Regions from separate parts of the Homo sapiens genome. Here region 1 is linked to region 2. The links are contacts of gene promoters, found by promoter capture Hi-C in blood cells and fetal thymus (Javierre and others, 2016). All regions are on one chromosome and are shown on one strand. Each heading gives the region's core, a stretch centred on a gene start or on the middle of the fragment in contact. The rest is flanking DNA. Distances are from core to core; before and after follow the strand shown. Region 1 overlaps PTPRE (protein tyrosine phosphatase receptor type E). Region 2 holds the start of CLRN3 (clarin 3).

Evidence for each region. Contacts are between HindIII fragments. The CHiCAGO score rates a contact against its expected background, and 5 or more counts as called.
Region 1: a fragment that was not itself captured here is called in contact with the fragment with the promoter of CLRN3 in region 2 in 6 of 17 cell types (monocytes, M0 macrophages, M2 macrophages and 3 more); the score reaches 16.5 in monocytes.

What each region holds. Positions count from the first base shown.
Region 1 is chr10:128,024,415-128,031,659 of GRCh38, forward strand. The region is part of intron 2 of PTPRE (protein tyrosine phosphatase receptor type E); the gene reads left to right. Among named protein-coding and RNA genes, the nearest start is that of AS-PTPRE, 34 kb to the right of the region's middle. The HindIII fragment of the contact is 2,730 bases long and covers 2,486-5,215 here.
Region 2 is chr10:127,890,780-127,897,045 of GRCh38, forward strand. CLRN3 (clarin 3) reads right to left here and starts at 2,162. Exons shown (of 3, transcript NM_152311.5): 1 at 1,777-2,162. The coding sequence starts at 2,005. The HindIII fragment of the contact is 797 bases long and covers 1,966-2,762 here.

The sequences.
Region 1 (7,245 bases), core at 2,601-5,100, 140 kb after region 2:
AAGGTTCCTTGTGTCTCCAGCTATCTGTGGGTCTGTCATCTTTATTGGAATCCAGATAGACTTAATTCTCACAGGATAAGCTCTTTACTTTTTATTCATTTTCAAGAGGACACTATGCGTAATTGGAATTACGCAAATTAGAGGATTAGAGTTTGGCACACAGGAAATTGAAATTATCCCTTAACAGACTTGCTGACTCGCCAGCGTTCTTACCGGTCCTTGGCCTGGGTGGAGTGCTGTTGCGTCCTCGGGCAGACCCTGTGCCTGTGCTGGTCCCACCCCTCAGCATCTGGGCCTGCCCAGTCCAAGCCAGGCAGGGAGCCCCAGGAGGAAGCCCATCAGGGGACTTCCTGCGGCTTTAAAATTTCTTTTGCTTTTTAAAAAATTATTTGATAAAATAAAGTTTGGTGTATAATCCACAGGTGTGCACTTGGGGCTTCTGCAGTGTTTATATAAGAAAGCATTGAGCAGTGGCTCACACCTATATTTCCAGCACTTTGGGAGGCCAAGACAGGAGGATCACCCGAGGCCAGGAGTTTGGGATCAGCCTGGGCAATATAGCAAGAACCCATCTCTACAAAAAATATAAATGAAATTAGGCAAGCATGATGGTGCATAACTGTAGTTCCAGCTACTCAGGAGGCTGAGGTGGGAGGATGGCTTGAGCCCAGGAGTTTGAGGCTGCAATGAGCCATGATCATGCCACTGCACTCCAGCCTGGGTGACAGAATGAGATCCTGTCTCAAAAAAAAAAAAAAAAAAAAAAAGAACAGAAAAAAGCACTGAAATGAATTATGAAGCATTGTTAACTCTTAGACATAATGGATTTTTTAAATTCTTTTATGACAAATTGCCACTTGCTGTTACTCTGCCAGCATCAGGGAATGGGGTCAGTGCTGTAACTCCCCAGTGAGGACCCACGGCTTCAGCTTCTCTGTCTTAGCTTTGCTGGAGCTTCTTCTTCACTCAAGGAAACCCCATCTGCAGATTCCAAGCCTCCCACTGGAGAGGTGAGGTCAGGACGTGGTCATTTGAGTATGGAAATAGCGATAGATTTTATTGCCCCACTTTACAGACGAGTAAACTGCAGACATCACCTCCGCAGTCATCCACACAGTCAGGAGTAGGCCTGGGCGTCAGAGCCGGACCCTGTGCCCCCATCCTGAGCTCCTCCCAGACCCTGCAGCTTCTCCATGCAGCCTCATGTGGAGGGAGCCCAGTGCCATTCTTCATCCCCCCAGGAACTCCCCAAACCCTGGGGCCTCCCTGCCTGCACTGGATTCGGGTCTGAGGGCAGCACTGCCCACAGAGCCCTACATGTCGGGCTGGACTTTGCCACCAGGACCTGCTCCAGGGGACCCAGGGAAGCAGCCCCTCCCCAGCTCCCAGCAGCCTCCTGGGTCACCCCCTTTCCCAGGGCACTGTCTGTTCCCCAGGGACCTCAGATGCCTCTGAACACACCTGGCTTGTGTGTATAGGGTGCAGGGGGCATGTTTATATGGGGAGGGAGACAAATATTTTTGTCCATGGCTGCCTTTCTTTGGCAGCCAGAGCCAGGTACTTCCAGAAGTACAATCTCCCAGGGTGTGCTCAGAATTCACTTTCCAGCACCCCGAGAGTCTCCCATGTATCTCCAGAAACCCCAAAACAACCCATCCCTGGCAGGCCAAGCATGCAGGCATGGTGGGTGGCTATGTGGCCTGACTCTGCACGGCCCAGGTGGGCCCCAGGCTGCAGAAGAAAGAACACAGCACTTCCTCCCTCAAACCCCCAGCGCCTCTCTGGTTGGCCAGCCAGGTGCGGTGGGCAAATGCTTCACCATCTCTGACCTCCCTGTCCTCATCCATCTGTGTTCCAAGGCAAAGGGGCACTGCCTGTCTGGGCTACTGTCAGGGGAGGGTCTGGCGAGAGGCCCCCTGCACGCTTGCCAGCCAGCACAAAGCAGTATTTATCCCTTCCTCCTTTCCACCTGGCTGGCACCTGACCTCTCCCCAGTCTGTCTTCAGTGAAGGAAGATATAGAACAACGCCCACTTCCAGTGGGTCAGCTCGGGCTTGTCCGGAGCATGGCTGGTCCCCTGCCCAGACCCCTGGAGGACACTGTGGACCCATTCAGGTCCCTGCAGTGATAGCCAGACCAGGGACACCACCAAGCCCCTCATCCTTATTTCTCTGCCTGTTTCCCCTCCCACTTTTTCTCTCTTAACACTGGACTTCTTTGCCAGTCTTTTAGTAGTGTTTCAGTGATTTTACATTTAGACATAGGCAATTACTTTTGTTCAAAACATTCAGCTCCAACCTTCACCAACTGAGATAAAAAGCAAGCCCTTTGCATCCTTTTCTCTTTAACAAGCAAAGCTGTCTCCAAAGAGGCCAGCTCACCGTGGCTACATCTGAAACATGCTGAGTCAACAAATTTTTACCATTAAGGGTTTTTTATTGTTATTCTTTAAATCTTTCATCCATGTAAGTATATTCACACTTGAAGCTTGGAAAATGTCTGGATTTTGTTTCTCCTTCAGAAAACATACTTTGAGCTTTTGTTTTTCTCCATGTGTAACAAATAATCATTTTGCCCTATGAATCATATTGTCCTGATTTCATAGAAAACAGGTGCAGTATTAGATACAGACGCAGAGAGGGTCAACCCACAGCTGTGGTTTTCATGTCTGTGGGCAGGACTTATAGTAGTCCCTATTTCCTAGAGAGGGTATTAGCAGGCAATGAGGTGACGCTTAGGTTAGAAGCGCTTAGCACAGGGCCTGGTGTGTACTCAGTGCCCAGAAAGGTTGATTTGTATTATTAGCAATTATTCTGAGAAATTAACTCTGGCCTTGCTGGCCTGTGCTTCCTGCAGTGAGAGGCCTGATGGAGCCCAGTGGTCTGTGTGGCTGTCTGCTTCCTAGCACTCTCCCTCCTCGGCTGCTTTTGTGGGGCCTGCATGGTGGAGGGATGCCTAGCACCCCAGAATTCAGCCCCTACTGACCAGCACCCCACAGGAGGCAAGTCAAAGTGAGGCTCTGAGCTGTAGGTTAAAGGAGGTGCTTGTCCACTGGCCAGGAATGCCATTTCCCTGCTGTAATCGTCCTTGTTGAGGCTGTTCTGCTCTCGGGTTTATCAGAAGATAAAGGGGTCAGCCTCCGCCTCCTGGCCTTTGCTTTCCTTCCTAATCCAGAAACATGTGGGTCAGCGCCTGCATGACCAGGATGGATACTGGAAGAGTGGGCTATGGAGCCTTTGGAAAGGTATCCGGGCATCATTTCCACACCAGCATTCGTGTTATTTCTCCGTGCATGAATGGATGGGCCTTGAAGAGCCCGAAAAAGCAGGCTGAGCTCTCCTGAAAGGGGATAATCCTTGGTCTTTCTCTTTTTGCCAAAAGATCCTGGATAAATGAACCGAGAGAGACCCCAATCTGGACCAGAGATGGTGCCCCTGACGTTTGAGCCCACCTGGCTGAAAGAGGGCAGGTGACAGTCCCAGGACACCCACAGGAGGCTACTCAGGAGCCTGTATTTTGGGCAGAAACAAAGAAGCTGAGAGGCACAGTGAGGTGGGACACCAGCACGCCGAGGGTCTCCACCTCCCCAAGGCAGGACAGGCCATGGCAGAGGCTTCAGGGGAGGGTTCCGGCTTTGGCTGGGGGCGTGGGAGTCTCCAGAGGCAGCGAGCCCAGGACACTGATGGTGCAGACCACTGGATTTCTGGAGAACACTGTACTTCGCCAGCCTGCGGCAGACACATTATTCACAGAACTTTCTCCAAAGGAGGTTAGCCATGTTTGTCAGGCTCAGGGAGAAGTGAGGAGGCCTCCTTACCATCAATTAAATATGGGATCCGGATCACCCTGCGCCTGTCTCCTCCCCAGTCCTTTCTGCGACCTCAGGTGGCCTCACTCCTGGCAGGCAGAAGGGACTCGGGTCACACACAGCCACACTCGGGGATTAGGACCTGAAGGATATCATTGAGCCCGCGCCCGCCCCAGGCTGGAATTGCTGGGCCGTGATCTCCTCCATCTTTTCTTTCTCCAGCTGCCTCTGAAGGTCACAGAATCTGCATTTCTTAGGAAAAATGGGGCAAAGGTGAGATGGTACACAGCACACCTGGCCCTGGCTCAGCCCCCCAATGTGGACAGGTTGCAGAAGGCCACTGCCTCGCTGCAGGAGGCTGGCCCTCAGCGCCCAGCAGAAGCGGCAGCCCCATCTGTCCCCGAGACCCCACCCCCTCAGGCACAGCTGAGCAGCCCGCCGGGGCCCAGGGTTCCTTGGTCTTGGGTTCTGATGCCTTCATTCCCAGAACACGAAGCCAAGGCCAGGAGTCGGGATCTGCTCCCAGGAAGAAGCCTCCATCCCTGCGGAGGGCTTGAGACCCTCTGGGATGCGACCCAGTCCCCACCCATGGCCACTCACTTCCACCCTGCCCCGGCCCAGCCCTGGCCACCCCAGACGTCTGGCCCTCGTCCCGAATGCTGTCCCCTCTGGCCTCAGCTGTCCTCCTCGAGGAGCGCTATCCTGCTCCGTCTCTGCTCAGGGTCCCCCCAGAGGCCTCCCGCTGGGATTTGTCTCCACTTTGCAGTTGCCTTTTGCCCCACATGCCCCGTCCTGTGGTTATTTACCTTATGGGGGCATCCTCCCTCTTGATTGCGACTCCTCGGAGGCAGATAAGAGTGGGTGGCTTTCATCTTCCAGCTCCCAACTCCCAGCCCACTGGGCTGCTGTGCTGTGGTGCACGTGAGTCATCAGATGCCCCAGGCGGAAGGCTCGTGGGGGCTCAGGGCCCCAGCTGGGGGCAGAGCACCTCAAGAATCCTCTCAACTGGCTGCAGGCTCCTAGTTCTTGGTGACTTAGTGGATGGAAGACCCACCTACAGGTTTCCAAGCTGCTGCCTTTCTCTAACACATGGGCGGGTCCTGGCTCAGCACTATTGTTCTCCACCAGCCCTGACCCAGCACCCACTGTGAGCCAGGCCTGTGGGTGTCAGCACTAAAGACCAGAAGAGTCGCCAGCCCATGGGGCGTCTGAAGCAGGTGGCACAATTGACCCTCTCAGCCCAGACACCACCCAGGGCCTTCTCCCTGACCTCGGCTACAGCAGATGAGAAGGACACTGTGGGAGAACCGAGTCAGGATGCCCAAACTGGATGACTTCCCTGAGGGCGGTGCACTGCTGAAGGCCCGTGGGTCTCCATTCTCTGGGATAATGCCAGACTCCAGCAGAAGCTTTAGTCTATTTCTGAATAGAGAAAATCTGCTGAAAAACGTCTATTTTCCAGCTGAATAAACAAGCCTTTCAAGAAGAGGAGGATGAAGAAAAGACGGCATGTGTCCAAGTTGAGCTGAGACGGACTGTAAGCCCAGGCCTGCCTAAGGCCCCCACAGTGGGCATCACCAGGGCTGGGGTCTTAGGGGCCGCCAGCTTCCTCCACCCACCTGCCTGCACAGACAGCTCCTGGGCATCAATGCCTCAGCAGTCAGATCCGCCCAGGCTGCTTCTGAAAGAGTTTTGTAGAGAGATTGCTCTTCTGGGGGCGGGGACAGGACACTTATCTCCATCCCCCCACCAATCATCACAGGAGGATGAAAAACCTCAAAGAAAGACCCAGGGGGCAGACACAGGCACAGATCCCAGTGGAGATGCAGGCTCCGGAATTGCAGGCTCCTTTTTGGAAACGGCAGAGGCTCCCCATGTGGGCTTCCCTCACCCCTCCGAGGCCTTCCCAGGAAGACTTGGTGGCAGAGACCGTGTCCACTCAGCAAACACCACCGTTCGCTTTGCTGAGTTTGCAGTTTCCCGCAGCATGGCTGCTGCCCTGGCGAACAACGGGGCCACGCCGTTACAATAACCAGCCCTTGCCTGATGAGTTACAGTTTACAAGACTCACTCATTTATGATTTCGTGGGATTCTCTTGTTTCACTCATTGGGAAGCAGGCGCAGAGAGGTTAAGTGTTCTGGAAAAGGCCCTCCTCTGGGGGTAGAGGGAGGGGAAAGAGAGAGAGAGAGAAAGGATGAGAGTTAATGAGAAAGAGAGGCAGAGAGAGACGTCGAACCAGCTGGGTCTTCAGGCTCCGTGGCCCGGGCCCTTCAGAAAGTGCCGTGAGTTGATGTGCTGGAGAGAATCCACGTGTCAGTCCCCGACACCTTATTTCTTCATGGCGATTCCTTTAAAAACACCCGTGGAGCACCTCCTCTGTGGCAGCTCTGAGAAGGCACCAGGGTAGAGACCTGCATGAGAGTTGGCCTCTGCTTTGAGCAGTGCCGCGTGCATGGATAATCCTGCCGGCAAGGTCTTCCTGGACATCTCTGAACACTGAGGGTTGGCGTTGCCAGGGGAGACTCCTGGTCGCCCGCGTCCTATTCAGGTTCTGTGGGTTCCCAGGGCCCTGTGCTCTCTGTCCCCTGCAGGCCTCCCTCACCTCCCCAGCCTCCTTGGACCGGCTGACTCCCTTTCTCCCCAGGCAGCCCTCCAGACCCCTCTAGACAGGGGCAGGCACCCTGCAGGGCGCCCCTACCACATCGTGTGCTTCCCCCGCCTAACACATGGCAGTTGCATTCTAGTTATTGAAGTCTTTTCTCTCTCTGGCTGAATCGCAAGCTTTGGAAGTGGGGAGGTGGGAGGAGGGGCCAAGGGCAGTGTTGGTCTTGTTTAGTTGTCTCTCCACATCCTGGCAGTCAACTCTTAGTAACCAATGCTGAATGAATGCATGGATGAATACATAAGCCAACCAGCAGGTACTCTTGAGTCTACAGTCTCCCTCAACTGGCAGCTGATGGATTTCTTTGAAATCAAAAGTGTAGCGTAAACCTACCCACAGAAGTTTAGTCCAGTCATCATCACTTTTGGAGGTCTGATCCAGGGTGGGCTGTACTCAGCGAGGCCTGGGGTGCAGCTGGCCAGCGTCTCCTCTGTCAGCCACACCCCTGAGCGGAGGCTCCGTGGAGGGGCTGCAGGCCTCAGCTCCGGGTGCCCTCTTCTCAGTGGGAGACAGCGGGAGGGCTGTGCTGTTTCCAACATTCCCAACACTTCCATTGTTTCACACCATTACTGCCGAGCCCCAAGGGCGGATGGGTGGAGCCATGTTGTGTGGGCCCTGCTGTTTTCCTGGCCAGGGTGTTTTGGGCAGTGGTTCTGTTTCCTATATTGATGTTTCCCACGACCCTGCCAGGTAGCCTCTGATAAAGCACATCTCTTCTGAGTGAGCAATGGCCTTTGGGGGCCATGAAGTACCTGTGAGTGTGACTCTGCCAG
Region 2 (6,266 bases), core at 912-3,411:
TAGCAGCTGAACACCGCAAGTTGAAGATTTCAGTAACATGACTTTCCCCTGTCTGAGAGAACTGCTTACAGGTGTTCAAGCCCAGCGATTATTACAATCATTGGCAATAAAGATCCCCTAGGCTCTGAGAGGTCCTTAGGTGTCAACCAGAGTGACAGTGCAGCCCCTTCATTAATTGGGTGGTGGTTCACCTTCTTCAGCACTAGGAGGTTGGGCAGTGACTTGGGGAAGGTCAGAATGTGGCTCCCCAGTAACAGAGACTTAAAGTAGAGATCCAGCAAAGGGAAGGCAAATATTCTGCCTGGCTGTGCTCCCACCTGGGCTGCCGCACCTACCTGGCCCTGGGCCCCTTCAGGGCTCTCCTTGACAAGTGCCTGCTCTGGTCCCCTGACATCACCATGCTCACCTGCATGCACACAGGGCTTTAGAGCCAGGTCCTGACACATCCTGGCCTCCTCTGAGTCTCCGTGCATAGAGATAGTTGATGCTTTCTTTGAAGCCATTTATCTCAAATTGGAAATCAACTGGTTCCAAACAGACACCATATGGAAACCAAAAAAAACTGTAGGTTTTGTCTCTTACTTAAAATTTGTTAAATGTGTCTGAGGCTTCAGGGCAGTTTTTGGTTTTGAAAATGCTATTCACATAACTGAAAGCATGACTGAGTCTCTGAAAGTTGCTGTAAAGCCAATGTTCCCCATCCTTATGGGAAGCTGAGGTTGACACCAGAGGAGATGTCCCTGAAAGGCTATGGCAATGCTAGGGGAGATGCTGCTTTTGCTAACATCTAAATGACAAATGTATAACTTGGGAACATAACCAGGTTGCTTTGGATTTAAGAAAATAGTTTCATTAACAAAGTCATAAACACACTAGAGCTAGAACTTAGAGCTAGTGTCTAGGACTCAAACTTCTTCATGCATTACACAAGGACTAAACATTACATGTGTATAAGGTAGAAAATGATGCATATTTATAAGTCAAAAGGTAATGACTGTATGATACCCAATAATGCCTGTATAATACTTGCATACAACATTGTTCAAAACAAAGTCCACTTAATGTGTTACATAATTTACAAATGTTTTTAAATTTAGAAAACATGAAGGTAGGTTATCAAACCTCAAAAGTCAAATAAGTAGCTAAATCAACTTATTATTCTCAATGAACTTTTAATTTTACTTCCATGGAGAGGAGGGCATTATTATATAAGAAATCAGAAAAAAAAATGTTTAGGAATTCCTATCAAATATACAATTAATAAATTAATGGAAATTTAATATAATTTCCAACGATTAGATTTTTTGGAGGTAAATTAAAATCAGTTAAAGAAATGAACTTGAGAAATAGAGATAATAAATTTTCCATTTTACTCTTTCCTGCATAGATGCCACTTGTGAAGTTCTAGACAGAGGTTGTGGCTCCAGCTAAAAACCCAGTCAATACAGTTAAAACATGTGTTCCTACTGGCTATTCAATGCCGTATTGCTGCCACATATTTTTACTTATTTACTTGTCAGTCAACTTGGTAGGTATTATTTAAATACAGCCACTGCTAGAATGATATAGACTATTGTATTAATAGACACAAGGAGAACCGAGGAAGCTCAAATAATGACATGGCAAATTTCCAAAATTATGAGTTAAGCTTGTACCTTCAGCCTAACCCAAAACTTACAAAGAAATTATTTTTGAATGGTTATTTGGCCCAAATATAGAATGACATAAACCTTAATTCAATCTCACTATATTCATTCAAATTAGTTTATCATTTACCTGCAAACTTTTTCTTTGGTTCTGCAAGTCCGTGACTCAATTCTTCACTACTCTCCCCACGAAAAAGTCCGTAAGTGATGAAAATGCTCCCATTTGAAGCAGAGTCTCTAACAGCAATTGTACTGGTGATCCATGCTTGTGTCCCAAGAATAGAGCAAATTACAATGAAGGACCCAAGGCTGGTGAAAAAGCTTGATAAGAACATCAATGTCTTCTTTGTGGTAGGCATTTTCACAGGAAAATAAGTTCTCTAGGACAAAAAAAGGAATATCTTCTTATAACACTTTTGAACCTTATCTTTTGAAGTCTGGTATTTAGAAATGGAGTCTAACACTTTATTGTCAAATATAAAATCTCACTCTTCCTGAGGAAGGGTTATGCTAATGGACATTGAACTCTGAACATGGCCATAAAATTAACAGTAGCTGAACTTTGGTCTGGAGTAAGAGGCTGCTATGGTTACAGCCAACCAGCATGAACAAGGGGTGGGCATGGTCTTCCCAGGGACTTCCTCAATCATGCAATTAATTTATAATCCTTGGCCAAGTGTCATGGAAGCAAGTTTAGCCTACCATATCATGACAGGAGTAGAATTCCTAAATAATAGGGCGTGGAGGATCTGTATTCCCAAAGCGTTGCTGAGTCTAGCAGACAACAACATGAAACCCCAACTCCTCCAAGAATTATTGGAAATATGTAAACATATACTTCACTATTGTGGATATTTATGTTGCTTCAATTTCACAATTATGATTGAGAAAGAACAACACCCAAATATCTTTAGGCATAAACCTTTGTTCATATCTCCACTTGCTTCCTTGCTTAAACTTCTAGAAGTTTGACGAAGTCTGTGGATTTTTCTGAAGTTTTTGCTATGCATTGCTCAGTTTCTTTACTCATTAGTGATTTGACTCTTATAATTGTTCCAAGAGGAATCCTAAGGAGGGTAAACCTTTGTCAAATGTACTGTGGAGTGGAAAGAGAAAAGCTTACACCTCCTTATGTTTTATACCTCTCTATTTTTAGACTTTATCAGAGAGGTTTGGCTTTCAAATTTCCTCTTTCAAATTGGATCATATTTGCGTATTATTTAAATTATATCTTGAGAAGTTTCATCTTTATTACTTTTTAGTACTCTGATAGAGATGGTTCTGAACATTCTTGTTTTTGGTCGTTATAGCTGTATCCACTCTGTTGAATGGTAAATAGTTTATAAATGGTCATTTCTGGACTTTCGAAAAACTCTCCCATTTGGCGAAAAGATCATTTCTTGAGATGATAAATAGACATTCATAGCATGTTTTCCATACCGCTTTTTACTGTATTCTTTGATTATTTAGTAATATAATATTAAGTTGGTGCAAATGTAATTGCAGTTTTTGCCATTAAAAGTTACATTTACTTTTAATGGCAAAAAAACGCAATTACTTCATCCTCTACTTTTCTTCATTAACACCTAACTTATTTGTGGAACTAGCTGATCATCTGTCTTTTCCGTTATTGTAACTAGATGACATGCTCCGGGAGGTGGACATGTTTGTTTTGTGTACCACTGGATTCCAGGGAACTCTCAAAGAGCCTGGCCCAGAGAAGACACTCAGCAAACATTTGTTCAATAAATTATTGGAGATACGTACACACATACTCTACTACTGTGGACACTTATGTTGTTTCTATCTTAAAATTATGATTAAGGAAGAACAATGCATGAACATCCTTATGCATAAACCTTTGTCCATATCTCTGATTATTTCTTTGGTTAGACTTCTAGAAGTGAGTCAAAGTCTGTGAATGTTACTGAAGCTGTTGCTACACATTGCCCAGCTGCTCATTAGAAAAAGATACCAGTCACCCACCATGCCCTTAACACAATGAAGGTGCACACTTTCCTACATCCTCAAAACATGTATATTATTGGGAAAATTTACTATTTTTTCCATTTAAGTCTATTTATTTTGACCACACTTTTAAAGGGTGGGACAGAATTTCAGTAGTTAGTTCCTTCTGGCCCTATTCCTAGTGTGGAAAATAATTTTGTATTTATTATTGTATTTTGTATTACATAGGCCTATTACAAAAATGTATTCAAATGGAACTGGCAAGAATAAAGAAGAAAGTAAATATAATAAATAATTTATCCAACAAGAAGTAATTGTGTTCACAGTTGGGCAAAGACTTTCATACCTACAGCTTTATGTCTTAGCTTCCTGCTGCTATAACTGAACACCTGAGGCTGGGTGATTTATAAAGAACAGAAATTTATTTCTTATGGCTCTAAAGGCTGAGGAGTCCAAGGTCAAGGGGCTGCATCTGGTGAGGGCCTTCATGCTAGTGAGGATTCTGAGTCCTGAGGTGGCACAGGGCGCGCATCATGGTGGCCAGATAGCAAGTGGGCTGACAGTGCTAGCTCAGGTCTCTCTTCCTATTCTTATAAAGCCACCAGTCCCACCCCGGAGAAAACCCATCGATCCATTAATCCATTAGTCCATGAAATAATTAATACATTCATGAGGGCAGGGCCCTCATAATTCCATTGCCTCGTAAAAGTGACAACTTTCCATACTGCCACACTGAAACTCACCAATATGAGTTTCAGAGGAGACAAACATCTGGTGTAGCACCATGCACACATTTATAATACAATTGAGTCCTACTCTATGTTCTATTTTATAATCTGCTTCATAAAAATTTCAACAACTTGCCATGGCAATCCTTTCATGTCAATAGATCACATTTACCATTGTATAAAGCAACCACAAATTATTTCTACAAACCCTTTTTGGTGGACATTGAGGTTGTTTCTAGCTTTTCACTGCTGTACCCGTGATGTGGTGATACTCCTTTTATGTTCGACCTTGCTAACCTTTCTAGGTATTTCCTTGAGATAAATTCTGAGAAGGAGAATTGTTGAGTCAACCAAAAATATGTGTTCACCAGCTGAAAGTGTGTCCCAATTTAAATTCCTGCCAACAGCATTTTGCATTAGAGTCCCCAATTTCCACAGCTTCCCCACAGCATAGTATTGCTACTATTTTTAATCTTTCACAAGCTGGGAGACAAGAAGTAGCTTGTTGGCATTATTTGATTTTTACATGTCAGTTAGAGTTACTATATTCTAATAAGATTATTACCCATGTGTATTTTTACTGACACAGTTTTCTGTTTATGATGTTGGCTCCTTTATTATATAGAGAGGTTTTTTATTTATGATTTTTTGTACAGTAAAGATAGTAAACCTTTGTCAGTTCTGTGTATCTTGTGGATATATATATATGTATACTGAAATATATTCATTGAATATATTTATTCATTTTGTTATTTGCATTTCAATCATATTTATACATTTATACATTTTAAACATATGTGTAGATATTTTGCTGGCTCAGGTTAAAAATGTCTATGTAACCGAATATTTCAGTCTTATACTTTATACTTTCTGGATTTGGTATCCCAACTCCAAAGTTATTAAGGCTATTTACATATAAAAACCAACTCAAGTTTGTGTGAAACAGAAAAGTGATTTTTTTTTTAAAGATACAGGATTATTTTGCATTCCCCAAGGTGAGGTGACAATGAGAACTCAGGAAATTACTAGAACTAGAATTTCTATTGCCTTCTCTGCTCCTTACTGCATATCTGTTTCATTTCCTGGGTTTTTTTCTAATATTAAATTTTATCTTTCCTGCTATTCTGTTGCTGTCTTTTATTTTGTTTTTCCTCTTCTAATTTTCTGAAATGAATATTTTATTTTCTTAATTATTTTGTTTTTGCATTAATAAAATATTTAAAACCATGAATATTTTTCTCTTCATATATATATATGTCTTTGGCTAGGTTCCATAGGTTTTTACATATGTAAATTGGCATTTAACATCTTGAAATTGCATTTTTTATTTCCTGTTTGTTGAGGACAAAGTTTGTAAGATAATTGTATGGTAGCATTATTTCTATTTCGGTTATTTGTTTCTAGTTGTCTATAATTTTAATCAAATAATGTGATCTTAAAATACATCTACTCTTAGGGTTTTATTGAGATTTTATTTGTAGACAATTTATAATCAATGTTTATAAATGTTTATAACATTTTTTGTCACTGTAGGCTATTTTGTTTAATGGATTTACCATCATTTATTTAACAATGTTTTATTTTGGCCATTTTGGATATTATGAAATTTTTTGCTTATACAAATTTGCTTAAATACAGATCATTAACTATATCCTTAAAATAAATCTCAGGAGAATTGCTGACTCAGATAGACATTTTTAGACTTATTATATTAAATATAAATTGGCCCCCAACTGGCTTGCAATTCATAATCCCACCATAAATGTATGAGAAAGCCCTTTTTTCTATAGCACTGGAAAATGTTTGTTATTTTATATGTAATATTGCTTTAAGTTACAATTCTATGGTTTGCTTTTCTGTCACTATAGTTTTGGCTTTTCTAGAATTTCATAAAAATGGTATATTATAGTAAGTAGTCTTCTGT